7 separate regions of the Homo sapiens genome follow, and regions 1, 2, 3, 4, 5 and 7 are each linked to region 6. The links are contacts of gene promoters, found by promoter capture Hi-C in blood cells and fetal thymus (Javierre and others, 2016). All regions are on one chromosome and are shown on one strand. Each heading gives the region's core, a stretch centred on a gene start or on the middle of the fragment in contact. The rest is flanking DNA. Distances are from core to core; before and after follow the strand shown. Region 1 overlaps OCRL (OCRL inositol polyphosphate-5-phosphatase). Region 2 overlaps OCRL (OCRL inositol polyphosphate-5-phosphatase). Region 3 overlaps ENOX2 (ecto-NOX disulfide-thiol exchanger 2). Region 4 has its middle 39 kb from the start of APLN. Region 5 has its middle 9.6 kb from the start of ENOX2. Region 6 holds the start of ZNF280C (zinc finger protein 280C). Region 7 holds the start of OCRL (OCRL inositol polyphosphate-5-phosphatase).

What was found. Contacts are between HindIII fragments. The CHiCAGO score rates a contact against its expected background, and 5 or more counts as called.
Region 1: a fragment that was not itself captured here is called in contact with the fragment with the promoter of ZNF280C in region 6 in 3 of 17 cell types (activated CD4 T cells, M1 macrophages and monocytes); the score reaches 7.3 in activated CD4 T cells.
Region 2: a fragment that was not itself captured here is called in contact with the fragment with the promoter of ZNF280C in region 6 in 1 of 17 cell types (total B cells); the score reaches 6.3 in total B cells.
Region 3: a fragment that was not itself captured here is called in contact with the fragment with the promoter of ZNF280C in region 6 in 1 of 17 cell types (total B cells); the score reaches 5.2 in total B cells.
Region 4: a contact is called between a fragment that was not itself captured here and the fragment with the promoter of ZNF280C in region 6, in 3 of 17 cell types (total CD8 T cells, activated CD4 T cells and neutrophils). The highest score is 5.4, in total CD8 T cells.
Region 5: a fragment that was not itself captured here is called in contact with the fragment with the promoter of ZNF280C in region 6 in 2 of 17 cell types (naive CD8 T cells and total B cells); the score reaches 6.1 in naive CD8 T cells.
Region 7: the fragment with the promoter of OCRL here is called in contact with the fragment with the promoter of ZNF280C in region 6 in 12 of 17 cell types (activated CD4 T cells, M1 macrophages, non-activated CD4 T cells and 9 more); the score reaches 16.0 in activated CD4 T cells.

The regions. Positions count from the first base shown.
Region 1 is chrX:129,592,040-129,595,556 of GRCh38, reverse strand. OCRL (OCRL inositol polyphosphate-5-phosphatase) reads right to left here. Exons shown (of 24, transcript NM_000276.4): 24 at 3,001-3,517. Among named protein-coding and RNA genes, the nearest start is that of OCRL, 54 kb to the right of the region's middle. The HindIII fragment of the contact is 729 bases long and covers 887-1,615 here.
Region 2 is chrX:129,575,376-129,579,216 of GRCh38, reverse strand. It overlaps OCRL (OCRL inositol polyphosphate-5-phosphatase), which reads right to left. Exons shown (of 24, transcript NM_000276.4): 17 at 3,155-3,320; 18 at 2,665-2,900. Among named protein-coding and RNA genes, the nearest start is that of OCRL, 37 kb to the right of the region's middle. The HindIII fragment of the contact is 4,103 bases long and covers 336-3,841 here.
Region 3 is chrX:130,885,576-130,889,564 of GRCh38, reverse strand. All of the region lies in intron 2 of ENOX2 (ecto-NOX disulfide-thiol exchanger 2), which reads left to right. Among named protein-coding and RNA genes, the nearest start is that of ENOX2, 16 kb to the left of the region's middle. The HindIII fragment of the contact is 2,408 bases long and covers 609-3,016 here.
Region 4 is chrX:129,614,415-129,618,146 of GRCh38, reverse strand. No RefSeq gene overlaps it. Among named protein-coding and RNA genes, the nearest start is that of APLN, 39 kb to the left of the region's middle. The HindIII fragment of the contact is 7,528 bases long and covers 1-3,732 here.
Region 5 is chrX:130,910,765-130,914,792 of GRCh38, reverse strand. No RefSeq gene overlaps it. Among named protein-coding and RNA genes, the nearest start is that of ENOX2, 9.6 kb to the right of the region's middle. The HindIII fragment of the contact is 4,182 bases long and covers 359-4,028 here.
Region 6 is chrX:130,266,597-130,270,157 of GRCh38, reverse strand. ZNF280C (zinc finger protein 280C) reads left to right here and starts at 1,259. Exons shown (of 19, transcript NM_017666.5): 1 at 1,259-1,396. RefSeq lists a silencer at 1,479-1,558. The HindIII fragment of the contact is 6,334 bases long and covers 1-3,561 here.
Region 7 is chrX:129,537,677-129,541,667 of GRCh38, reverse strand. OCRL (OCRL inositol polyphosphate-5-phosphatase) reads right to left here and starts at 1,409. Exons shown (of 24, transcript NM_000276.4): 1 at 1,190-1,409; 2 at 845-924. The coding sequence starts at 1,228. RefSeq lists silencers at 1,196-1,395, 1,506-1,565 and an enhancer at 1,282-1,576. The HindIII fragment of the contact is 8,325 bases long and covers 545-3,991 here.

The DNA.
Region 1 (3,517 bases), core at 2-2,501, 670 kb after region 6:
GGGAATAATTGCACTAGCTGCCATTTATTTAGCACTTAGGCACCAGGCACTGTTCCAAGGCCTGGAAATGTAGTATCTGATCTCATCCTCATGATGATACTATGAGGAAAGGTGCTATCATTACTTTTAAGATGTGGAAACACCTTCAATACGTACAATTTGTCTTCTCAATTATACCCAATAAAGCTGGAGAGAAAAGACATGGAAACCAAGGCACAGAGACGTCAATTAACTTTTGATCAGGGTCACACATCTAGAAGTGGCAGAGCTGGGATTTGAACTCAGGCAGTCTGGTCATTAGAGCCTATGTGAAGAACCACTATAGCTTCCTGCCTCCCCAGGCCCCGTGGAGCAGGTACGTGAGGTCATCAAGAGAGGAAGAGGAAGATTGTGGAAGAGTACATGGCAAGCCCAGGGGCAGTCAGCCAGCATGCTATACCAGGAAGCCCAGGAATGAGGGCAGAGAGTCAATGGGACAGGGCGGGTGACTTAGGGTTAGGCACAGCAAAGATGGGGACTGAGGCAAGAAAGAGAGAGGAAGGAGTTTTCTGGGTAAACAGCACATGCAAAGGCCCTGAGGCTGGAAAGAGTTCAGCTCACTGGGAGGAGTAAAAGGACAGTATCAGAGTATATTGGCAGGGGTGAGGAAGGGTTATGGTAGGCAGAGGTCAGATCCTTTAGGGTGGTATTCTCAAAGTGTGGTCCTGCATCAAAATGCTCTTGGGTCCTGATTTAGAATGCAGACTCCTGTGCCTCCTCTCAGACCAACTGACTCAGAATTTCTGGAGCCTAGGAATCTGCTTTTTAACAATGTATCCAGGTGATTCTTCTGCACATGAAGATTTGAGACCCATTGATGCAGGGCCTGGTGGGCCATGGCGAAGCTTAGGTTTCATTGTAAATGTCGCTGAAGGGTTATCAACAGGGGAGGGATGAGACTGATGTAATTAAGTCATGCTGCCTGCTGCGTGGAAAATGGATTGGAGGGCAGCAAAGTTAAAAAGACCAGGCAGGGCATGGTGGGCTCATGCCTCTAATCCCAGCACTTTGTGAAGCCAAGGTGGGAGGACTGCTTGAGCCCAGGAGTTTGAGACCAGCCTGGGCAACACAGGGGGACCCTACCTCTACAATTATTTTTTTTTTAATTAGCCAGGCTTGGTAATGTGCGCCTACAGTCCCAGCTACTCGGAGGCTGAGGTGGGAGCATCGCTTGAACCTGGGAAGTCAGGCTGCAGCAGTGAGCCGATCATGCCACTGCACTCCAGCTGAGGCAACAGAGTAAGACCCTGTCTCAAAAAAGAAAAAAAAGAGAGAGAGAGAGAAAGAAGACTAGGCAGGAGGCCATGACGACACCCTAAGAAGGGATGATGGTGGTGGCCTTGACCAATAAAATTGGCAGTGGGGGTGATGAAAAGCAGACGCGTGGGGCACGTTGCTGAGGTGGTCGGTCGGTAGGAAAGAGAGAAATCAAGGCTAACTCCTAGATGCTTAGCCCCAGCAACTGGGCAGATGGTGTTGACATTCTCTGAGCTGAGGGAAGACAGGTAGAGGATCTAGGTTGGGTGGTAGTAAAAGAACCAGAAGTAAAAGAATTCCACTTTGGACGTGTGAAGCTTGACATGCCTGTGAGACATCTGAGGGGAGATGCCAGCTAACTAATTGGATATACTGGGCAGGAACTCGGAAGAGAGCTATGAGGTGGAGACGTAACATTTGGAATCAGGGGTATTACAGACATTTACAGCCACGGAAATTGATAAGATGCCACCAAAGGAATTAATGGGCAAGCAGAGTAGAACTGCTTGAAAAAACAAATGCCACTATGCCATGCAGTGTCACTAACCTAAGTAACCTTAGGTCAGTCATTGTCCCCTCTGAGACTTTCCCTATCCAAACAATGAGATTGGATTAGGTCACCACTAAGGTTCTCTCCCTAACATTTAGTGATGCCACTGTTGCAATGTGTGGCTTTTACATTATGAGGCTACACCAAGAGCCAGTTCTTCAACTTGCCCTGCAATCAGAAAGGTCCTAATGGGTCTCCTATAACAGAAGCCTCACAGCTGGGGATGCCATTTCCTCTCTAACCTCTGGAAAGACTGACCACCTGCCTGCTATTCTCATTGCCTGCTACTATGTAAAAACTTCTGGTGTCAGTCTCCATCTGCTGGGGGGAAAATCACTCTCAGAAAGAAACACCTTCTCCTGCCAAGGCTTTGGGTGGGGCTTTGAAAGTTGTTTATGACAACACTGAGTCAGCACATTCATCAGGGTCAAGCTCACAGTTGGAGGGAATTGGAAGAGGGCCTTAGTAGAGAAGAAACCTCCAGCTGAGGCTTCTTCAGTCTCAAAGGGAATGGAATCAGAATCCACAAATTCATAATGGAGATTGGCAGGGAAGCATTGGCACCATGCTCAAATCAGCGGTTTCCTCCCAACGTGTTAGGCAGTTCAGATTAGAACAACAAAAAAGTACTAAATTTATGGACTTGATCACCCCAAGAAGTCATAAAAGTTCAAAACTGGTTTTCAAAAGCTGCAAAATAGGATTATGTGAAAACAAGCTCTTTGGGGAAGCGCGTCTAAACTACTGAGACTACTGAGCAGGGGTAGCTGGGTTCTCCCCAGATGTGTATCTTAGGGTTTGTTTCTGGGGCCGGAGGGATCACAGATCTGACCTAGTGTGACATTTACATGCATTAAGAATCAACATCCTTTCCTCTAATTGAGTTGTTTTGTTGCCTGAATCCTTAGGGTTAAAATAAGGGTACTTGGCTGGCCTCTGAAAGTACAGGACACCTTTATTAGCCTCTGAAAACGCATGGTTTCTTCTCATCTCTGAGGGTGAATATACTAAGAATTCTTATAAATGGTATTTCCCTGTAAGACAGGTGATGACAGTGCAGGCACAGCTGATGGGGACTGCAGTCAAGTCGAATGGAACCCAGTGACACATAAGCCCTCCCTTCTGAGTGCTTCCTCACCAAAATCACACTTTGCTTTTTCACACAACATATATTTATTCAGAAAAAAATTTGCAATAAATTATAATAAAAAAGATGACACGAAATATAGAATCCCACTAGCAGCTTTGCTTAGTGATCAAGACGTTTTTGGGAAATATAACAAACAATTACAGAATAAGAAAACAGTGAAAGGGAGACTAATGCAATGTCACCACATGGATTTGAACCATTTCTTCCCTAAGACAGCAGGTGCAGAGTCTTTCCCTACCAGCTGAATCCGAAATCCTTACTTCAGAGCAGCTACAAATTAGTACCTTAGAGGACTTGGCAATTACAGGTTGGGGTGCTGGAATAGCCATGGTAGGGAAGCAGATTTCTTCTGTCTGGGTCTACATCTTGTCTCCTCTACCTAGAGATTGTCTAAAACTCTCAACTCTGTATATGTTCCAGGATGAGCTGAAAAAAGGTCGAGGCAGTACACCAACTTAGTGTTTTGATCTGATGTAGAAAGAGATAGGATACTGCATACGTGCAGCACAGAGCCTCCACTA
Region 2 (3,841 bases), core at 1,138-3,637, 690 kb after region 6:
CAGTAATGCAGGTTGAGTATTCCCAATCCAGAAATCCAAAATGCTCCAAAACTCGAAACTTTTTGAGTACTGTCATGATGATCAAAGGAAATGCTCATTGAAGCATTTCAGATTTCCGATTTCCAGATTAGGGAAGCTGAACTGGTAAGTATATAATGCATATATTTGAAAATCTGAAAAAGATTGAAATCTGAAACACTTTTGGTCCCAAGCATTTTGGATAATGGATAATCAACCTGTATAGATAATTTCCTCATCAATGAGATACAGGAATTTAATAACACTGAAATGCAACAGACTGTGAAAAGAACCCTAAATCCTACAAAATAAAAGCTTTAAAAGAAAAATGATGTCCACACACATACAATTTAATAAAAACTCAGAAATTCTGTAATTAAAAATGATCAGGGTTCTATTATTTTAACCCTCAATCACTTGTGCACAAAAAGAAGGAAAAAGGCTTCCCAAAGAGCCATTCATTCCTCTAATGATTTTGGTTCCTTTCTGTTCATGGGCAAACATGGTAAAATTACCTGATAGTATACTTTACATAAAATAAAAACTTTATGAGGGTTGAGCCTCTTCTGGCCAATCCCAGAATATGAAAAACTGCAAAGTTTTTCATATTAATGGCTTTGCAGTTTTTCATATTAATGGCAAAGATATTCTAATATCTTCACTGACTCTGACTAAAAATAAGGGTAGGTTCCTGTTTACATGAAGGTGGAAGGAGAGAGTATAAATGGGATAAGTTTAAAAAAAAAAAAAACAAGAAGGAAACAACCAGAAAAATTTAGGAAATGGTTGACCCTTGACTGGACATTTGTACTGGACTCTTAAAAAAGTCAATGTCACTAAAGAAAGTAGGAACTGTACTACTCCAATAGAGACTTCAGAGACCTCACCAAATACTATATGAACCCAGATTGGATTTTGGTTTAAAAAAAGGTATAACAGAAATTCTTGGGACAACTGAAGAAATCTGAATATGGACCGAATGTTAAATGATACTATGGATTACTGTTAGTTTTCTTATACATAATAATGGTATTGTGCTTAAGTGTGCCCTTTTTGTTAAGAGATGCAGGCTGAAGTGTTCAGTGGTGAAGTGACATATTACCACTAAATTTTACATGACACAGCAAAAAACATCTGTGTGTATATATGTACAGAAGGCATGTGGGGGTGTGTTGTACTGTTCTTTCCATTTTTCTGCACATTTGACATTTTTCATAATAAAAAGCTGAAACAAAGAAAGCTGGGAAATAATGTCTGAGATGAAGGAAAGGGGGTAGGAGAAATAAGAAAAACAACTTCATCATCCAAAATGTATTCTAAAAGGTGAAATACTAAAATCTAAAAGACAGAAATATAATGTTAGGAGAAAAACAATTATCATGAAAAACAGCAGAACGGTAGGATATGAATTTCTGAAGAAAATGGTTCTCTCTCAAACAGAGGTAATATACTCAGTCATGAGGGCTCTGGGGAAATAAGTATAATTCCAAGAAAGAATGCCGGGGCTGGACTCAGTGTTTTAATCTGCTATCTGAGTCACAGCTAAAACAATTCCATGGCAACAGAACAGATCGGACTCAGACAAGCCAGCAGCCTGCCTGCTGGTCTAGACCTCCCTGCTAGATACAATCACTCGCTCTGGCTAGGCCTAAAGGATCCATGTGAATACTAATGGTAAGGATAACGTATGCTGTCACCTCACCTAATTTTCTTTGGTAAAAAAACCAAGAATATACTTTTGTAGCCCAAAGAGATTCTGCATACAATCCAACAATATTTTCATTTAGAAGGAAATTTCTTAATACAATGAACTTTATTACTAAATCAACTTATGTTACTGAAGATAGTAAGTACTTCCTTCATAAAAACATTAATATTATAGCTTGGCTTGAGGGAGAGGTGGGAAAATCAACCTCCTTTTCTTTCTTAAGCACATCACATTAAGTAAGTATCAAATTTCAATGTACATTATAAGCATCTGGAATGCGGATAAAATGCAGATCTGTAGGCTCCATATCCTGAGATTCTGATTCCATTGCCAGAAGTGAGGGTACCTGTAATAAGCACCCCCAGGGATTCTGATTCAGGTACTCCAGGGTTCCAGGATAGTTCTATGCTTCCATAAATAGCAAAGTTTTACTCTGATTAGATATAATGTGGTATTAGTGAGGAATACTAAACTGGGAGCCAGGAAATCTGGGTGCTAGATTTGTTACTAACTGATGGTATTTGACTCTGGGCACGTCAATGTCTCTGTGCCTCAGTTTTCTCATATGCTCAAATGAGGATAATTCTGCCTGCCCCACTTAGCATACCTCACGTACATGCTAATTTATACAAAAGTGACTTGAGAGTATGAAGAGCTTAACAAACAAGCATTATATCTTTGAGAGGGGAGTCTTTAATCTTATTTGGTGAGCTTAGTATTATGTATTGTACTCACAACAAGAGCCAACTGCAGATTAGTCCCCCCTCTTTCCCCTTAGGCTTAATCTAATCAAAACAGTGCTAAAGTAACATTCTTCTTTATCATTTGACATCCCCCGTGGCCAAAAGAAGACAGAAAGCACAAAGATAATGAGGACGTCACTTAAGTATTGTGAAAATTAAATGTAAAAGAGGTTTATGTCTTGGGACAGTTCTTACCAAGTCTATGAGTTTGGTAACAGGAACTTCTCGGATTGGTCTTTTCATACGGCACAGAGCCTCTAAGGATGTGCCAAAACAACTTGGGAGGTAATTTCCACTGATAGTCAAGAAGTAATCTTTGCCTCGATCCAGGTGAAGGACGAGAATATCTTCAATCTTATCTTCTCCCGAGTTCAGGATGGTTACAGAGTCTTTGCTGACATACACATCAAGAGAAATGTCCACTGTCTCATCTGAAATGTAAGAGATGATACATGGTAATAGGAAAACCTCCAGTGGGAAAGCAAAAAAGAGTATAAGAACCAACAGAAAAGTGTCCTCTAAAAAAATCATTAAGCAATGAGGGGGAAGAGACAGGACACACACCAGAGGTATCACCAATATGACAGTAAAGGTAAGAGACATGTGGTTAGAAAACAGAAAGTTAAACCAAGGGGATGGGAGTCATGACATCACCAGCAGAGACAATGGTAAAGGGAAAACTCACTTGGCTCCAAGTAGCCCTCAAAAGGTTCAGCCCGAAGCCATGGCTTGCAGTACTGGCTGTCATTAAGTTTAGGGATGAAAGAAAAATGGCAGGGAACCTGTCCATTGTTGCTGATCTGGAACTTCTCCTTTTGTAGTTGCCGAAACTTCACATTTTCAAACACAAACTGGGGAATAACAGACAGACACAAACATGCATCACTAGTAGGGGAAGTAAGTCAGTTGGATTATTCCATAGAGGATATGAGGAGTAAGGTAATTGTTAAGCAGGTGTGCAAATGCCATAGACATTCACCAACTGAACCAACTTCACAACATCCACTTGCATGTATTATTATACTCACACCAGCAGAGAAGGAGTTAGGTGGCTCTTGCTACTTCTCCAGGCTACTCTGATCATTCCTAGGATCCTAAGAGGGTAACCCAACCTTGGTTCAGAGTATTCATCCTGTGACCAAGTCCTGGTTTCTGAGATATAAATTAACTAGCAACTCTGAAATATTAAATAAGAGCATCTAACAGCGGAGGGCTTACTATGTGCCGGGTGCTGTTCTGAGAGCTTTGCATGTATTAACTCATGTAATCCTTACAACTACCCCTTAATCCAGGAAAGGAAACTGCGGCTCTGAGCGGGTAAGATACTTGCCTGAGGTCATACATCTACTAAACAGCCGTGCTACAACTGGAA
Region 3 (3,989 bases), core at 563-3,062, 620 kb before region 6:
CCCTTCCCCCTTTCAGCAGCTCACTTGCTCTTAGCTACCAATTACCTGTTATGTGATTAATATTATCCTTTTCCCAATTGGCTTAACATAGATTTTGGATATATATTTTACTGGCATCTTCAGTAGTAGCAATGACGTTCAAAGGGGCAATTAGAAAAAGTTTTCTTTCTTCTTACAAGAAGTAGGATGGGCACTTGTTTGAGGGCACAGATAGCACTGGATGGGACCAAGAGGAGCTGACATCTGATATCCCTGCTCTATCCCCCACCTTTCTTTTGGCTGCTTCAGATTTGGTTCATGTGGACAAACACACTTGGGAACCACCATACAGATGGAAATCAGGACATGTGGGATTTGGCTGAACCAAAGATCCCCAAACATTGCCTGGATCATTTAGTGCCCCAGGTGTGGCCACCCCAGGACTTCATGTGCTAAAATTGTGTCCCAGCTGAAGCCAGCTGGTCACTGTATACATAGGATCAAGGCAGCTTGGAGCCTCATAAAGCATAACTTTGGATTTTTACCTTGTGGATTTAGATTTAGTTAATCACCTTGAATCCTCCCCCAACACACTGGGCAATGAGGATGTAACAGGCAAATAGAAAGCTTGAACAAAAGGAGATGCTCATTATCTAGTAGTTTGCATTCCAGATGGGACATAATGCTAGACCATATGAAGAAAAATGGACTGACTTTCCAGAAAGGAAAGAGAGAATTTAGAGGGCTCCAGTCTCTTTAATAAACTTTTGATGTATTATTTTAAAATTTTCTCAAAAACGTTCCCTGCTATAGAATTTTAAGAGCAAACAGCGATTCCGTCTAATTTAAAAATTGTAAGAATTGAGCAGTGTTTCATGAAATTATATTAGTTCTTTCTTTTTATTTGCCTTATGTGATAGAGGTGCCTCACTTCAATCATTAAGGCAAGATTTGTTTAGGGCATGGTAGTAATAATCCCATACAATTGTATAACCCTTTACAATTTACAAAAGGGTTTTCATACCTATTATCTCATTAGCTGTTCACAGCAATCCTGTGAGACAGTCAGGATAGGTACTATTATCTCCAGTTAACAAATAAAGGGAACTTAGGCTCAAAGAAGTTAAGTGACTTGGCCAGAGTCACATAGTTAGAAAGTTGTAGAACTGGAAGCTGAACCCAGGTTTCCTGATACCCAGCCCCAGTGCTCCTTCGGTTGTATCATGTTTCCTCCCAAAGACACTATCTCCTTTTTGTTCCTACTCGTGATTAATTTTAAAATCCGTCTAAAAATGAGCTTTAGTTTAGTGGATGAGTAAAACTGAAGCACTTACATGTAAAGTGCTTTCTCAAGTCACCTAATGAAGTGGGTCCTGCACATAGCTCTTGGCTTTTCACCTTCATTTTAACTGAACTATTTTTAGGTAGACATAGATTTGTTTTTCAGTGTTAAATATATGGACAAAAGTTGTGTGATCCACTGATTATAGGTGTGAAAGCTGCGCTTGGGGAATGGGACTAGGGATGAAGAATTGCCTTAAAATAATTAGCTTCTTGCCTTTGTGTTAAGAGATGTCATGTTCAATAGAATTTAATTTCTTTATACTTCCTTTGCTTCCAGCCTTTTAAAAATACAATTCTTTAGGGAAAATTAGCAAATATTCATTCTGAATGTTGATTTCTCAGGAATAAGGGTAGCCAGAGGAAAGAAAAAGCAAAGGGGTGACTTTCTGTGCCCTGTAAGAGTGGGCAAACATTATTTTGTTTGGAGCTGTGAGCTAAGATTTCTTCCAAGGCATGCAAATCGTAAAGTTCTGATTTGTCAACTGCATGCTGTTTCTTTAGGCACTGATGTATGAAATCCCGAACGAATTCTCCAATGAACATACTGCTAATTGCTTCTCCACCTGCTCTCCAACCTCCTCCACCCCACCCCCTCCACTCCCAATTCAGCCTATAAGTGTCCGTCATTGGAGATGGATGGTGACACATGCAGTAATAGCAATTCATAAAAGCCAGTTCCAGCCCTTGTCTTCAAGGCTCCTGGATTTTCCACTGCCTGCTTTTGTGTAAGTGAAGTGGATGGAAGTGCTACTGGCATCAGAATCCTCCTCCCTATGCTCCGTTGCTGAAGCTCAGTTGCTCGGCTGGAGCTGAGCTAAACAGAAGCGTCAGATCTAAGCTGAATTATAGCTATTTTTCTTTTTCCTCAATGGGGTGGGTGGGTTAGGGATAGGGTATAGTGGGGGTTTGGGGTGCTTTGGCTTTTCTTCTTGTGGAGAGAAGAGGGTAAGGAGAGAATAACTCACGATAGGATACAACGTGAAACAGTTCCCTGAAGAGTGTCACAATGTTCCTGGTACAATATACAGGTATAGTATGTTTTGTTTTATCTGAATTTCCCCTTTGTTTCAAAGTGCATTTCTTTCTTTTATTTTTCCTTCAGTTCAACTGTACTGAAGGACAAATAGGGTTCTAATGAGCTAAACAAAATAGCTGCATAAAACATGCCTGCCCCCAGCTATAATGTTTGTAGCAGATTGCTGTATAAAATCTGCGTTTTCTGTTAAACTGGTAGTCCCGATCCCTTAATTGTGCACGCTTCTCTGCTGTATTCTTGTATTGAATTTCTCAAGTCTTATGTCTGCAACTGGTAGTATGTGATATAGCTTAGAGTGTTTGCACAGAAGACAGTGCTTTGGAAGCAAAAAGCAATTTTTAAACACTTAGTGTGTTATGTTTCTCTAGAGTTTATTAACTCCTGTATTTGTTAATTGGTTGTATAGATTTGGGATATACCTAAGAGTAGGGAAACTTCAAACAGGAAGCATTCCAGGACACATCTGTTTGGTAAATTTAGTTATTTTTCATTACTGAACTCAGGTTGATGAACATTATATATTATTGTTGTTTGTTTATTCTCCTGACAGAAAAAAAAAAGTGCTGGAAACAGCAAAGCTACAAATACGAGCCCCAAACCATCTGTATTGTAAAATATCCTTGGATCAAAAGTGTTTCTTAAGTATTCTCTTAAGCTTTCAGAAACATAATGGTCCATAATAATGAAGAAGATTCTGATCAGGTATGGGCGAATGTTTTTTGAAAGGCTTCTTACACAGCAGTTAGACAGAAAGGTCCCTTGCAAATGAAAAACCCTGAGAAAGTTTCACTTTCTTGCTTCACAGAACAGAAGCTTAGTTCCTACAACCACGTTGTTTTGATAAGTTTGAATATCATTTGTTGTCAAGGACTTTCATCTCCATTGTTGCTTTATTATTCTTAAAATATTATGCTCCTACGCTTAACAGCTAAAAGATCATGTTCTATTTTGATGCGTGGTTTGACAGTTGATTTCGCTCCTCATTAATTGGACAGCATGCAGATGATGTGGAGAAGTGAGTGAGTGACAATATTTCAAGGTTACGTTGAAGAGCATACAGTGAACCTTAGTGCCTGGACCAACAGCTGCTGAATTGAATTGTCTGCAATTAAAGCAACAGCAGGTTTGTGTAGTCTCCCTGCAGCCCATTTATTTGAATTTATAGCTTCAGTTTCTTCTTTGAGTATTGGTTGGTTGGTTCTGCTAAGTGTTGGAAAGTTGTGCTTGCTGGATGTTTTCTCTGTATTCCAATGCATGCTTGACTCTAGAAGAGCCTTCTGTGTACATTTTAATGTGAGAAGTTGTTGAGGCTTTTTTCTTACGGTTAAAACCAGAGATTGTCTTATTTTCTCCACTATAAAATTAAATAGATTTACATGGAAAATATTGCTTTGTTGAATAAATAGAGATTTCTCATGGACCAGTGTTACTGGTTTAAGTTTCTGGCAATGAAAAATGCTGGACTTTGTTATGCTACTGGAATTACTATATCTGGGAAGAACTTCTCTCTGCTAATAAAAATGTTTACATTTTAAAAACGACATTATCTCCTTGCCAGCTCTCAATTCCACAGTGACCTAATGAATAATTTCAAATCTAACTAGGTGGCTTTTATGACTGTATTTTATTT
Region 4 (3,732 bases), core at 867-3,366, 650 kb after region 6:
CAGCCTGGGTGATGGAATGAAACTCTGTCTCAAAATAATAATAATAACAATAATAATAATAATAATAATAAAGATGAGGTAGAAAAGGAAGATGGCTTTAAGCTCAGTCTTTAAGCATTTGAGGATGATGGTTCTCATGGCACTTTAAGGCGTACAGTAGCAACTGATTCAAGGAAAGGTAGGCATGCCCCTCTGACCAGGCTCAGCCAAGGCGAAGCTGCCCATTTCCCAGAGGGCCTTGCTGAGCTTCACAGGCCAGCCACTAAGCTCTATGGCGACTGTTCATTCGAGGACAAGAATGGAAAATTCATCATGCTCAAGGCAGGAAATTCCACAGTGAAGGCCTCTTGAGCTATATCATTGCAACAAGAGCCATTCCCCGTGCAAGACAGGTCCCATTCCTGTTTTGTTTGTTTGGGGACTGAATGTTGTTATTCCCTGCTCTGCCTGTGTTTATGTCAGGGAACGTTTACCATCAGAAAACAAAGTCCAGGCAGTAGACCCACCAATGCAGCCAACCACGGAGCCCTTCACTCTGGCATTTCCGGGCTTGTTCCCACCTGATGGATTTCTCAGTTGAACAACATCAAAGGTCTTCTTCTAGCTTCCCCGCCCCCCGCCATCTTAAAGGGACTGTGCTGCTGAGAGGAAGCCATTTGATGCTGGAAGCAAAGCAATTTCTGGACTTGGCATCCTCACCTGTCTTCAGCCTGAGTGAGAAGCAAAACAGGCTTGTCCCGCAACCCCCAGCAAGCAGTGGCACAGATCCCAAGGCCTGGACCCTCAGGCTTTTCTGCTGGTGGATGTATATCCACAGGAGCCAACAGGGCCCAGTCCTGGGAGAGCAGCCCTAAGACAGCAGTTCTTGCTGAATGAGATCTCAGAATTGGAATGAAAAGCAGGAGAGGCAACATCACCAGCTTCCAGGATGAGCACATTTATCTTGCAGATAAAATAACTGAGACTCAGAAAAAAGGGAGGAGGGTGACAAAGAGACCCCAAAAAAGGGAAAGAGAGTAGAGGAGGGGAATGGTGCGGAAAATAAAGGCTAAAAAGAGAATAGAATGGGAGTTGGAGGAAAAAGGCTACCCCTATGGCCTCTGCAACCTTCTGGCCAATGGTTCCTCTATGCCTTTCTTCTGCCCCCAGCCCTGACCCCCACTTCGCATGCTCCACCTCTCACCTGGGCCTAATGGACATCTTCACTCCTCATGGCACATGGGTCTCTGCTTCCAGCCATCAGACAGCTGAGCACATCCCCCTGGACCCAGGTTGGAGTCTGCCACCCCATCCCAATCCTTCTTCTCCTTTGAGATTCAGCTCAAGTCTCCCTTCCTTGCTATGGCCCTCACTGCCCTTGCCCTCTTCTTAGACAGCATAGAGCTCAGACTGCATAGTTTAGCACTGGGCTGTGTATCGAATGCCACATGGGTTTCCCCACTCCCTCCTGCATGAGATAACACAATCCATCAGGCAAGGCAGAGGCCAAGTCCTGTCCTGTCCTCTCCTCTTCTTCCAGTGGGCCACGCCCTGTGGGCGAGTGAGCTATATTGCTATGATCCAATGAGCTTCCCCTTCGCCATGGGGATCCACTGACCACTAAGGCTAGTAGTGACTGAGGACATAGATTGGGGAGTGTGTGAATGAGTGTGAAAGAGAAAGGGGCCCCAAAATAATAGGAAGAGTCTCTGACAGGGAGGGGAATCCACTTCCCAAGAAAAGGTAGAGAGTGATGATGCCTTGCCAACCGCTGAGACACTGAAGAGGGTAAACAGAAGAACACTGACCCAAGGCTGGGCACCGTGGCTCATGCCTGTAATCCCAGCACTTTGGGAGGCCGAGGCCAGCAGATCACCTGAGGTCAGGAGTTCAAGACCAGCCTGGCCAACATGGCGAAACCCTGTCTCTACTAAAAATACAAAAATTAACCGGGCGTGGTGGCACATGCCTGTAATCCCAGCTACTCGGGAGGCTGAGGCAGGAGAATCGCTTGAACACGGAAGGCTGAGGCAGGAGAATAGCTTGAACCCAGGAGGCAGAGGCTTCAGTGAGCCAAGATGGCACCACTGCACTCCAGCCTGGGTAACAGGGGGAGACTCCGACTCAAAAAAAAAAAAAAAAGAATTCACTCAGAAAAACGCTGACCCAGATCTCCACTGTGTCCAGACCAGCCCACAGAGCAGCTCCTTGCCTTGGTGCTGAGCCCTCCGTCCCAATGCCCTGTGGGGCAGGCCCGGCACTCAGCACTCAGGTGACATTCTGGCAGCGTGGGGCGGGGGGCATTTGTGAGGGTAAGGGTATGGGTGTTGCACCCATCTGGTGACACTCCCTGGCCTGAACCCCACTGGGTCCCACGCCAGGGCCCAGGTGCTTGCACACTCAGCTGCAAGGTCCCTTGGATGAGGTGACTGCCTTGGGGCAGCCACATGTGGGTGAGGAATGGAGCCAAGCTGGGCCTTGTCTCACTCATCTTTGAGTTCCTCTTGCTAACTCTGCCAGCACCTAGCACTGTGCCTGGCACACAATGGGTGTGCAGTAAGCCCTGGCTAATTAATAGTAATAGCAGCTGTCATTTATGAGACACCTACTGTGTGCCAGGCATGGTGCTGAATGCCTTTCAAAGATGATCTCATTTAATCTTGACAACCTTACAAGGAAGGTACTGCATTTGAGTCCCATTTTACAGATGAGAATAACACTCAGAGAGGTTACAGGTAGCTTGTCTAAGGTCGTATGGCAAGCAGATGGTTGGGCTAATATTCAAGGTCAAGTCAATGTGATGCTAGTAGTCAGGCTGGTAACCCCATGCTGTAATGTTGAATAAACGAAAGAACAGGAATCCATGACTGTGACTTCAATAGCCTTATGCTCAGAGCAAAAGACATATGAATCCATGAAATGTGAGGGTCTGAGATACAGCCCCCCTTCCATTGTGTGTGTGCACATACCCCTCCCCCCGCACACACACCTTGGGCTTTGAAAGCCATCTTTTTGGTGCAAACATTGCAACCTCCAGCAGGGAAGTGACGCTGCAATGCAGAGCACAGGCTGTTGCGGATTGGAAGGGGAAGGAAGGCCTGTGCCAGGGCTGCCTTCACACTAAACATAGAAACCCAGAAGGACAGACAACAGCTGAGGTCCTCAGCAGTGCCTGCACCAGGAAACTGATAAGGTTCTGGGGAGAGGGTTTGCCCCTTTGAGAGTTTTGGGAGCCTCTAGTGGCTCTTTGACTGTCCCCTGTCCCCAGGAGGGGCATGGGGGTGGGGTCATTTCAGCACAGCAGCTTTCCAAGCCCAGGAGGGATGAGTGGGTGCCCTTGGGCCCAACTGCTTGTGCCAAGCCTCACCCAATAGCCGACAAACACAAGCAGGCTCAAAAAGAAGAGGAACATCTAGGGCAAGCCAGGCCAATGCCTCAGGTCTCACATATACTAGGGCCTCAAGCTGGACTACTGGAAATGCCCTCACTCCCTTCAGAGCTTTGCTCATGAGTTACTTCCTCAGTGAGTCCTGCCCTGGTCACCCTATTTAAAGTTGCACCCAACCCCCACTCTCCCTATTCCCCTTCTATGCTTTATGTTTCTCTAATAGCATTTATCATCAAATGACAATTTTTACTTATTCATTTTCTTTATTTTCTGTCTCGCTCTATTATATCATATGTACCATGAAAGCAGGGGGCTTTAGGCTGTTTTGATCACTGCTGTAATCCCAGTACCAAGAATTGTAGCTT
Region 5 (4,028 bases), core at 1,200-3,699, 640 kb before region 6:
ATCAAATGAGATACCCTTTAAATAAGTGTATGTCATTTAATCCTCACAGCAACCTCATGAAGTAGGTATATTATTATTCATTTTCAAAAATGAGTAAACTGATATTAACAGAGCCCAGTTGACTTGCTTAAACCTAAAATTAAACCACTCACTAGCAGCCTGGCTCCAGAGCCTACTCTAAAGCATGATCCCATTGTTCTTAAAATGTAGTCTGCACAGACCACCTGTATTAGAATCACTTCAGGTGCAAGTAACAAGCTGTTGTGTCCCACCCCAACTGAACTGAATCAGAATCTCTGAGCATAGGACCCAGGAGTATTTGTGATTTTACCCAGGTATCTGAGATTAGACTAAAGCTTGAGAACCAATGTACTATACTTAACACATACATGCTGACTGACACAGAATCATGCATGTAAATGTATGCCCATGCATGCAAATAAAAAACATACTCATCAACACATAATATTTTACATCAGAGTAGTCCTTAGAGATAAGTGGGGGAACTTTTCCATAGTACCTGCTTTTCCAGCCAAATCATCACATCAAGAAATTTGCATAATGAATTCCACATTCCAGACTCCATAGAAAAAAATGTGTATGAAAACACCTTAGCCTCATTGGATCCTGGCAGGTGAGGATGGGTGATTGGCTCCCCAGACCCATAGCCCATCATACTTCTCCCCCTGTCTATAAGTCCATTAGGTTATGCCATAAGTCAATTTCAAAATAAAGTGAAGATGCAAAGGAAGTACGAGGTACATCAAAATCCTTGCCTGGCTAATTCTTAGCTGTATGGATTTGAATACATGACTTCATCTCTCTTGCTTCCGTTTTTTTCATTTGTAAAATTTCGATGGTAATTATAATAGTATCCATTTCATAAGATTGTTATGACGATTACACGAGCCAATATATTGAAAGAGCTTGGATTCTAAGCTCTAGAACAAGAAGTTGGCAAGTTGTACTCAATGTTAGTATAGTAGTACAAGTAATAGTAGTAGTAGTAGTAGTAGTAGTAGTAGTAGTAGCAGCAGCAGCAGTAATCAGGTTTTGAGGTTAGCATCCAACCCCTGTCTGTTTTCAGCTGGATTACAAATGGGTCTTTAGGTGGAGAACCTTGGAGAGTTTGTCAATATGGTATGGGAGAATATGTTTTTGGATCTGAACCTACGATGGAGGAAAAACATGAAGATATTTTTCTTAGCACTTCCTCCTCTGTCATACTAATTCAACTCATCATTATTTATTTTATGATATGAAGTTTTACTGCAAAAGCATTCAGTGTTCCCATTCCCTGGCCTTGGCAGATGTTGCCAGGTATGGGATAAAGTGAGGAACGTGACATTAGAATGAGACAGCAAGGAGAGGAAATACATATCCAAAATTCCTCATACAAAACACTTAGGGGCCGATGTTTTCTGAAATTCATTATTTGAGAGATTTTAGAAAGGTAATATGGTATATATACATGGTCTATAATACCCCTGGTAGGTGTTACAAACACATTAGTATTTCTATATCAAAATGAATATTCATAGAAATAGGTTGAAGACTGTAAGTAGCCTTATGTTGATTCAGGTCACATTTTGCTACCTAATGAGTTTTGGTGGTAAACTTATGAAAACTTTCGGTTTTTGAGATTATTGGATTTATAGATAATGGGTCATGGCCCATGGTCTGGTAGCTCAAGAATGAAAGCAAAGAAAAATAGTTGAGACCCACTAATGAGATCCTGATGAAGCCTCCTTGGTTGTGAATTGGTGGCCCAGTCTTCACTTTTCTCCAGCCAGAGATTATACCCGTCTTCCAGCCCGAAGTCCCAAAAGTGCCTATCACTTTGAGTGGAAGGTTATGGATCACGTAAAGCAAAGTTGTATCTACTATAGATGCAGAAAACATGATCTTGGGATTTGAGCTTTGCATATACCAGGGTCAAGTTTTGACCATGAGTCGCATCAGGAAGTAAAGGACTGGAATAGAGCACTCTGATTTGCTCTTTCCATGTACTGAGATTATGCACAAGATTTTAACTAGAGAATAGGTGCTATACTATAGCCAAAGAATGTGCGTCAACCATAGCATCAGAAAATAGGTCTCTTTGAGTTTGTCTATTTGGATTTTGTTGAGTTCTCAGATATGTAGATTCACATATTCCATCAGGTTTGGGATATTTTTGGTCATTCAGATATTCTTTGTGCCCCTTTCTCTCTCTCTTATCCTGCTGGAGTTTCCATTTATGACAACGTTGGTCTGCTTAATAGTGTCCCACAGGCCCAGCAGGAGCTTGTTTAGCCATACTGAAGGCAGGAACATAATCAATCCCTCTTGTCCACAGCATATAGACTCCCTGGGGAAAGACGTAGATGCCAGATACAATGTAGATAAGCCAAGCCAAGCCAAGAGCAGACGGTAGAAATAATGGAAAGTTGGCTGTACAGTCCCTTGGAAATACTGTTGGCAAGGCTGATATTTGGGCATAGAGAAAAGCATGGAGGCCTACCTCAGTGGTCATCCACCTTTTTGCTGCCCCCATACTCTTCACACACACAACACACTATCACGAACTTACATTTTACACTCAGTGATTCTCATGGAGAGGGTGCCCTAGAAGCTACATGTACCCTCACAGAGATGATGATATGCCCCCTTCTGTACACTCTCTCAGTTCCTCACAGGTTCAAATCACTGTAGGGAATGACACAGTGGAAAACTAACATATTCTTCCCACTAAATCCTTCCCTGTGTCACTCTGCACCGAAGCCCAAAATGTCCATCAAAAGCCATTCCTGGAGGCTGAGGTATTCAGAAGCAGCCTGAGAAACCAGCAAAAGCCTTCAACTGAGAGTTGGACCCATCTGGATTCTACTCTTCACTCTGCTACCTACTAGCTGTGTGATATTGAGAAAATAAACTCTCTGAACATGTTTTTTCAACTCCAAAAAGGGCATCATCATAATATGAACCTGATGAATCCAAGTTCTTTCAATGTATTGGCTCATTTAATTGTCATAACAATCTTATGAAATGGGTACTATTGGCCGGGCGCAGTGGCTCACACCTATAATCCTAGCACTTTGGGAGGCCGAGGCAGGAGGATCGCCTGAGCTCAGGAGTTCGAGACCAGACTGGGCAATGTGGTGAAACCCTGTCTCTACTACAATAAAAAAAAAAATTAGCCAGGCATGGTGGCATGCACCTGTAGTTCCAGCTACTTGAGAGGCTGAGGCAGGAGAATTGCTAGAACCCAGGAGGCGGAGGTTGCAGTGAGCCAAGACTGCGCCACTGCATTCCAGCCTGGGCGACAGAGTGAGACGCTATCTCTGAAAAAAAAAAAGAAAAGAAAAAGAAAAGAAATGGGTATTAATATTATTCTCATCCCAATTTTCCAGATGAAAAATTAGAGTTGCTGTAAGAATTAAGACAAAGTTGACAAAGTCAAGGGGTCAAGGTGAGATGTAAATCTCACATATGTTATATGGGCCAGGTGGCATATGCAAAAAGCACAGTAGACTGGGGTCAGATAAAACTGGATTTGAAACCTGGCTCTGCATTTACTAGCTGTGTGGCTCTTTTGAATCTCTTAATTAGCTTAACAGCTTTTTAAAATCTGTATAATGAGGATAACAACACTTATCATATTGGACTGTCATGAGCCTCCATGGGAGAATGTAAGTAAAAACAAACATGCATTCCATAGATATTTATTGAACATATAGTGAGTGAGATATAATGGAGATCAGTGTAGCCTGGGGCAAGATGAGGAATGGTTTAGAAAGGGTGCTCAGGAAAACCAATACTGGCAAAAAGAACATGATGTAAGAGCTTAACAAATGGGACTTTCTGGCCGGGTGTGGTGGTTCATGCCTGTAATCCCAACACTTTGGGAGGCCAAGGCGGGTGGAACACCTGAGGTCAGAAGTTTGAGACCAGCCTGGCCAACATGGTGAAGCCCGTCTCTGCTGAAAATACAAAAAAATTAGCTGGGCGTGGGGGTGGGTGCCTGTAATCCCAGTTACTTGGGAGGC
Region 6 (3,561 bases), core at 10-2,509:
AAAATACAAAATTAGTCGGGTGTGGTGGCGCATGCCTGTAATCCCAGCTACTCGGGAGGCTGAGGCAGGAGAGTCACTTGAACCCGGGAAGCGGAGGTTGCGGTGAGCCAAGATCACGCCATTGGACTCCTGCCTGGGCAACAAGAGCGAAACTCCGTCTCAAAAAAGAAAAAGAGAGATGAACCAGTACTGCTATAAACCTTGTGGAGAAATTTGGGAGAAGAAACTTTTACAGTTCAAAGCACAATGTCTAGAAAATGTTTCTGTAAGCAGTATTTTGGCAAGTGTTTTTCTTGTAAATGTATTTACAAGTTCCAGTGATTCTCCCGCCTCAGCCTCCCAAGTAGCTGGGATTACAGGCATGTGCCACCACACCCTGCTAATTTTGTATTTTTAGTAAAGATGGGGTTTCACTATGTTGGTCAGGCTGACTGGGGTTCAGAGAAGGAGGAGGAGAAAGGCGAGGAGGAAAGGGAAGTGGTCTCAAACTCCTCACCCCAGGTGATCCACCCACCTCAGCCTCCCAAAGTGCTGGAATTAGAAGTGTGAGCCACCGCGGCCAGCCCACGGACGGACGGCTGGTACTTACATGTGCACAAGTGCAGCTACTTTACTTACCGTCGAAGGCAGCGGAGGAAGTGTAATTGACTAGCGTGGATGCAGCTTTTCTAAGCAAACGCTCGATTTAACCTGGAGTTGTCATCCCACAAAATACATTGTACCTGACTACAGAGAAACATGAATTCTGGGTCTTCCTTGTGTGTAAGAGTAAATGTATTTTTCCTTAGCATTTTTTGTACCTACTATAGGCATCCATATGGCAATTAGAAGTAACAGAGAGACAAGCAAAACCATATGTTTAAAACAAAAGGTAAAAATAACTAGTATTTTGAGACGTGTTTCAAGTACAGTATTTCCAGAAAACAATATATTTATATTTTTAACTCGTGTCTTTAGCCCTCACACACAAGGAAGACCCAGAATTCATGTTTCTCTGTAGTCAGGTACAATGTATTTTTTGGGATGACAACTCCAGGTTAAATCGAGCGTTTGCTTAGAAAAGCTGCATCCACGCTAGTCAATTACACTTCCTCCGCTGCCTTCGACGGTAAGTAAAGTAGCTGCACATGTGCACATGTAAGTACCAGCCGTCCGTCCGTGGGCGGTTAAAAGGCCCCGGATGTTCAGGGGGTGGAGTCGGCGTCTACCCATGAGGCAGCGCGTGCAGTTATATACTTCTGCCCCCGGCTGAGACGCCGGTTCCGCGCTGGAAGTCTCCGGGGGAGTCGCTGTTGCTGAGGCTGTCGCCTGAGGTTTTTCGCGCTCCTCCCTTTCCTCCTCCTCTTTCTCCTCCTCCTTATCCGAACCCCAGTCAGACCGATCTGCTCTGCTCTCGGTAAGCGGCCCCCGCCCCCGCCTGTGCCGCGCGGAAGGAGGCAGCAGCTCTCCCGCGCGGCCGAGGCAGCCTTCCCCAGAGGGCGGTTCTGAGGGCGGCTGGCTGAGGGTCTCTATGCCGGTGCGGATCGACGGGGGTGCGGGGGAGGGGACAGGCTTGGCGGCGTGGTAGCTGGTGGGCCACCATCTTGCGCCGGGCCCTGAAGGGGGAGGGTTTTCTGGAGGTAGAGCCTGGCGGCCCGCGGCGGGCAGTGGTTTCGCGGGCCGCGGCAGCTGCGGCAGCCTTCTCACCTCCTGAGTCCTGTCGGTCTGTTTCCAACCCGGTTTGGGCTTTTCATTCTGGAGGCAACTCCCTTTCGTCTTTTGTACGGTTGATACTGATGTTTGACGGAGACCCGCCCACCCTCAAGTCTCTTCAATCAAACGAAAAGAGACTTGAGGGGATTCCGAACTTTCAGGCATCAGAGACCCTGTGACCCCTTCTTTCTGCGCAGGTTCCCCCCACACAGGACCGGTCATTCCATGCCCACAACCTTGTTCTGGCCAAAGGGACTTCCCTTCTCTGTCACAGAAATCGTGCTCTATTCCGTTATTGTCTAGAGGATAAGAGCCCTGAGGAGAAACGTGGAGTTAAATACACTATATTCTAACTAGGAGGTTTGCAGGTTTTACTTAAAGAGATGGAAAAAATTATGCTGAGGTATACTCCTGCTCTAGAGATGGAGGGAGTTCCTTTCAACTTCTCTCAGGTTTTAATGCTTTTTTAAGGAGAAATTCGAGAGGAAATTGTCAAGTGAACCAGCTTCTGCAAGCACGGGAGACCTTCATCCAGGGGATTCTCTTTGTTTGGAAAGATTTGTTAGTTTTGTGGAGTTTTTTAAATCTGCGACCTTAAATTTTTTTTACTATTGTTTTCAGGTTTGGACTATGAGTTGTAATGTCTTTTAGTGCCCCTAAACATAAAATAGAAACCTAGAAGTAGAGTTTTAAACTGCAAAAGTCTCCTCTTAGTATTTGTGAGGTGTCCTGGTTTGGGGGTTACTGTGCAAACTTAATCTCCTTACGCAGAAACTTCACTGAGCCTACAAAGGCACTGATTTGCTTGTAAAATTAGGGCTGTGTACCTTTGATGTTTCTACAGCAGTACAGATTCCATTATAATCGTATCTTGCATTTGTATATTTCATTGGTAGCACCCCTTTTGAGATGGGCTGTAGGGTGTCGTTAGAACTGTTTGAAGATGAGGAAACAGCCTCAAGGACAGAACTTTACCGAGGTCATGTGCCTAGGAAGTGATGGAACCAATTCTTAAACCTAGGCTTTCTGACCCTCATCCAATGTTCAATTTGGTATATTATGTCTCACTTTTTGTGAGAGTGAGGTGGTCACGGAGAATAAGCAAGGAGGCTCACTTAAAAGTTTTAAGAAGTATTATTCAATTCCTTTTTCCTTTATATTTTTATTTTTAAGGCTTCATTTTTTTTCGACTTTTTCATACTTTAATATTATTTCTAAGCATGTTGAAGAGTTGAAGAATATCCTATTGAAAAAGTTCTTAGGTTGAATAACTCCAAATCTCAGCTACTTGGTTTTCAGTGAGTTTGTCTTAAGTAGTGATTCAAAAAGATTTGATTTCCTCAGTAATTTTTTTTTTTTTTTTTTGAGACGGAGTCTCGCAATGTCGCCCGGGCTGGAGTGCAGTGGCGCGATCTCAGCTCACTGCAACCTCTGCCTCCCGGGTTCAACCGATTCTGCTACCTCAGCCTCCTAAGCAGCTGGGGTTACAGGCCCTTGCCACCACGCCCGGCTAATTTTTGTAATTTTAGTAGAGATGGGGTTTCACTATGTTGGCCAGGCTGGTCTGGAACGCCTGACCTCGTGATCCACCCACCTCGGCCTCCCAAAGTGCTGGGATTACAGGAGTGAGCCTCCATGCCCAGCCTTCCTCAGTAATTTGAATCAAATATATACGTCTAGACTTTTTTTCCCAGTGCTCTGTACATTCAGAGAAACATCACTAGTAATGAACTGTAGAAATGACTCCTGAAAGTAGAGTATTCGTCTAGACTTTATTCATTTGCTGCAAAGTAGTTTTCTTTTAAGGAGTTTTTTTTTTCATTTTTTTGTTTCCTTTTTAACTTTTTATTGGCAAATGATAATTGTGCG
Region 7 (3,991 bases), core at 160-2,659, 730 kb after region 6:
AATGAATATCCAAGTGAGGTGTCTTGGGCACACAGGGATAGGGGCCTATGATACGTAATGGTCACCATGGATATTTTTGAGATAAGATATTAGTGACAATAGAGTGAGGTTAGCAGCTATGGTGATAGCTTATCAAAATAATCTTTTGATCAATCAGTCAACAGTATTTACGGAGCTCCTATGGCAGAGAGGAAGGTGACACACTGATAAAATACTGTCATTTCTATCTCTACACATTTCATTACCTTTTCTTTCTAACAGTAAAGTCAGTAAGTGAGGCAGTTTCTGGCCTACACTAAACCATTACTGAATTAATGAATATGCCTTCAACCCAGTGGGATAAGGGGACGGGGAGACTGGAGAAACCAGCTGAATAGGGTTAAGACAAGTCTGTAACGTTAACAATGAAGCATTTCCATAGCACTTTTACTTTTTGGAAGCCACTCTCGCATTTATTTTTCCCCCAGTTATAATTCCAAAGGCTGTAAGGTAAGGCAGTTAATGGTTTTATTAAACTGAAGAGTTAACTTTGGCCCAGAAAGCTTTATTGACTTGCCCAACGTTACACAACACATGTCAGTTGCAGGGGCAGGAACTAAGAACCCAGGCTTCCTGCTTCCCCGCCCATTCAGTCCTTCCACTGAGCCACACTGCCAAGCACAATCCAGAGGCTTGGAAGTTGGGGACAAAGCCCCGAGGTTAGAGAGCACTGGCACTTCACACCTGGACCTGAACCTGTTGCCCGCGTGGCTTCAGTAGGAGGACAGTGGGTGACCCGTCGCGGTTTGGGGTTGGGAGGTAATGGCAGGCTCCCCTCCTCTGTGGGAATCAGGTGGTTACTTACTCATATTGCCCGTTCCTCTGGGCTAGGGTCAGGGCGCAGGGCTCCCGGAGAGGACCCTTCATCTCCATACCCTCGACAGTATGCGGGCGCTAGTCAAGGGTCTCCTTCGGAAGCGCGGTGGGGAGGAGTGGTGCACTGCGGGGCGAAGGGGGTCTTCCACCCCCCCCCCACCGCCGCCCTCCCCCGCCCCGCCCCGCCCTGCTTCGTCTCCCGCGCCGGCCCCCTCCCCCTCTCTGCTCGGCCTCTGGGCCACCCGGTTGCCCCGCCCCACCGTGTTCCGCAGGGCCCCCGACCCCCACCCCCGGCCCTGCGCGGCCTCCCCTCTCCCTTCTCTCCGGCGGATACGGCAAGCGGCTGGGCTCCGACCGGGAGCGGCGGCTCCATCCAGGCGGCCTCCGGGCTCAGCAGGACAGCGGACTGCGGGCCGATCCGACGACACTGGCTCCCGCGTCCCCACACCCACCCACCTCGGCTGCGTGTCGTTTGAGGAACAGCTCCGCGCCGGGCGCCGGGCGCCGGGAGCCGGGAGCGGGGAGCTGGGAGCTGAGAATCTGACCCAAGAGAGAGCGGCGCCTCGCGCCCCCGCCAGTTTTCCAGGCCGCCGCAGATTCCGTCCCCTGCGGTCAAACTGCGGAACTGCAGCGAGAGACCTGACGGACTGGGGGCGTCTCTACCAGGTCCAGCAAGGAATGGGTTTTAAATGCCACCTGTGACATCAAAATTGTTCTGAGGACTTTGAAGGCCACAGAAACAAAACACAGTCATACCTATGGGAGATCTCAAACCTGTTGTGTCAATACGACCCACATCATTCAGTAAAAAAATACATATATATATATATATATATTTCTTAAGGTTATAATGTCCCGTGTTGGTTATCCTACCATTTCCTTTCCTCTTCTTTCTTCCACGCCCTAAATCGGAGAATTCCCCAAAGCCCAGACCTTTGCTCCTCCTCTGCGTCCCCTCCAGTTCACCTCTAACTAGACAATGTCCAAATATATATCCCTGGCCCAGACCTCTTACCTAATAGAGTCCATTGTTAACACATCACTGCGTCACAAAACTAACTCATTATCATTTCACTGGAAAGCCATATATCGTCTTCCCCCTCCTCATCTCTATATCCAATCAGTCAACACACCCTGTTAATATTTTACGTGGAATTACTTTTAGATTCCTTATTTTCTCTCCATTCACACTGCCATAACTTTATTGTAAGCCCTTGTGATAGCCTATCTGGGTTATTGCACTTTTCTTTAAATAAATCCTGTTGGGTTTACTCTTTCCTTTGACATGTTTACTCTGTTGACAGCCATAAAAATATTTTTCCCAAAGTAATTTTTCGATCGTGTTATTCATTTGCTCCAGAATCTATAATACACTAGATATCAAGAGTGACTGTAAATCTGTAGTAATTAAAAGTATGCTGTGGAGATAGACAATCAATGAAACACAATATAAACCCCTCAAACAGACCACACATATACGGAAGGTTGATATGCAGCGTGTGGGACATTTCAAATCAGTGGGGAAAGAATGGATTATCCACTAAGTGGTACTAGGACTACTGCTTATCCATATGGAAAATTATAAAAATTAGACCCCTACCTCAAACCATGGAAGAAAAATCAGTTCCAGGTGGATTAAAGATCTAAATGTGAAAAGCAAAACTTTATAACTTTCAGAAAAAAAAATTGAGTATGAGCTTGGAATATGGAATGAGAATAAGACATTTAGCTACATGAAATTTCAAAATGTATGTACTTTAAGACAATATAAACAAGTTAAAAGACAAACTGGCCTGCACAGTGGCTCATGCCTGTAATCCCAGCACTTTGGGAGGCCGAGGTGGTAGGATCACTTGAGCCCAGGAGTTCAAGACCAGCCTGGGAAACGTGGCAAAACCCTGTCTCTACAAAAACTATAAAAATTAGCTGGATGTGGTGGCAAGTGCTTGCAGTCCCAGCTACTCAGGAGGCTGAGGTGGGAGCATCCCCTTGAGCCAGCGAGGTCACATCTACAGTGAGCTGTGATGGCGCCACTGCACTCCAGCCTGGGTGACAGAGCAAGACCTTGTCTCAAAAAAAAAAAAAAAAAAAAAAGACAAGCTGTCATCACCTTTCGGACATCTCCCACCATTTCCCACCACTCTCCCTAACTAGCTTTGCTTAGTCACACTGACTCCTTGTTGTTGCTAGGACTTGCCAGGCACACTCTTACCTCAGGGCCTTTACACTTGCTGTTCACTCTGCATGCACTCTCACCTCCTTCAGGTCTTTGCTCAAATGTCACTTTCTCACTGAAGCCTTCCTAGACCACTTTATTGAAAATTGTAATTCAACAATCCCCTTCTCCATCACCACACATACATGTTCCCTATCCCTCTTCCCTGCTTATGTATCACTATCTACCACTTCTGTTTTATTTATCAATATTATTGGTCATTTACCTTCACCCGCTAGAATGTTGAGTTCCATGAGTGCAAGGATTTTGTCTGTTTTGATCATAGCTGCATTCTCAGTGCCTAGAACCATTCTTGGAGCCAAGTAGGTGCTAGAAAAATATTGATTAAATGAATGAATGACTTGGTATCCAGGATATATAAGAACTCCTATAAATAAGAAAGAAACCTAATAGAAAAATTGACAAAATATCTGAGTAAGTAATTCATAGTCAAGGAAACCCAGATGGCCAATAAAGACATGAAAAGATGCCTAACTTTATTACTATTCAGGGAAATTGAAAAGTAAAACCACGAGATACCATTTCACAACCATCGGTTTTGTGAAAATTTAAAAAGTCAGACAACCCCAAGTGTTGTTGAAGTTCTAGCAGTGGAACTCTGATTTACGGCTAGAAGGAGTTTAAGTTGGTAGAACTGCTATGAAGAACAATTTGACGATGTCTAATAAAGGCAATACCCCTCAATCTAGAAATTCTATTTCTAGATATAGACACTGGCAAAACTCTACCTTTTATATGCACAAAGAGACATATAAAAGAATGTTCATTGCAGTATTATTTGTAATCTCAAAAATGGAAGCCAAGTAAATGTCAGCAGGTGAATGAATAAATAATGGTGTTCTCGATGAATGAATTTGAGCTATGGGTAGTAACAGCTAAATTTCAAAAATATAATGTTGA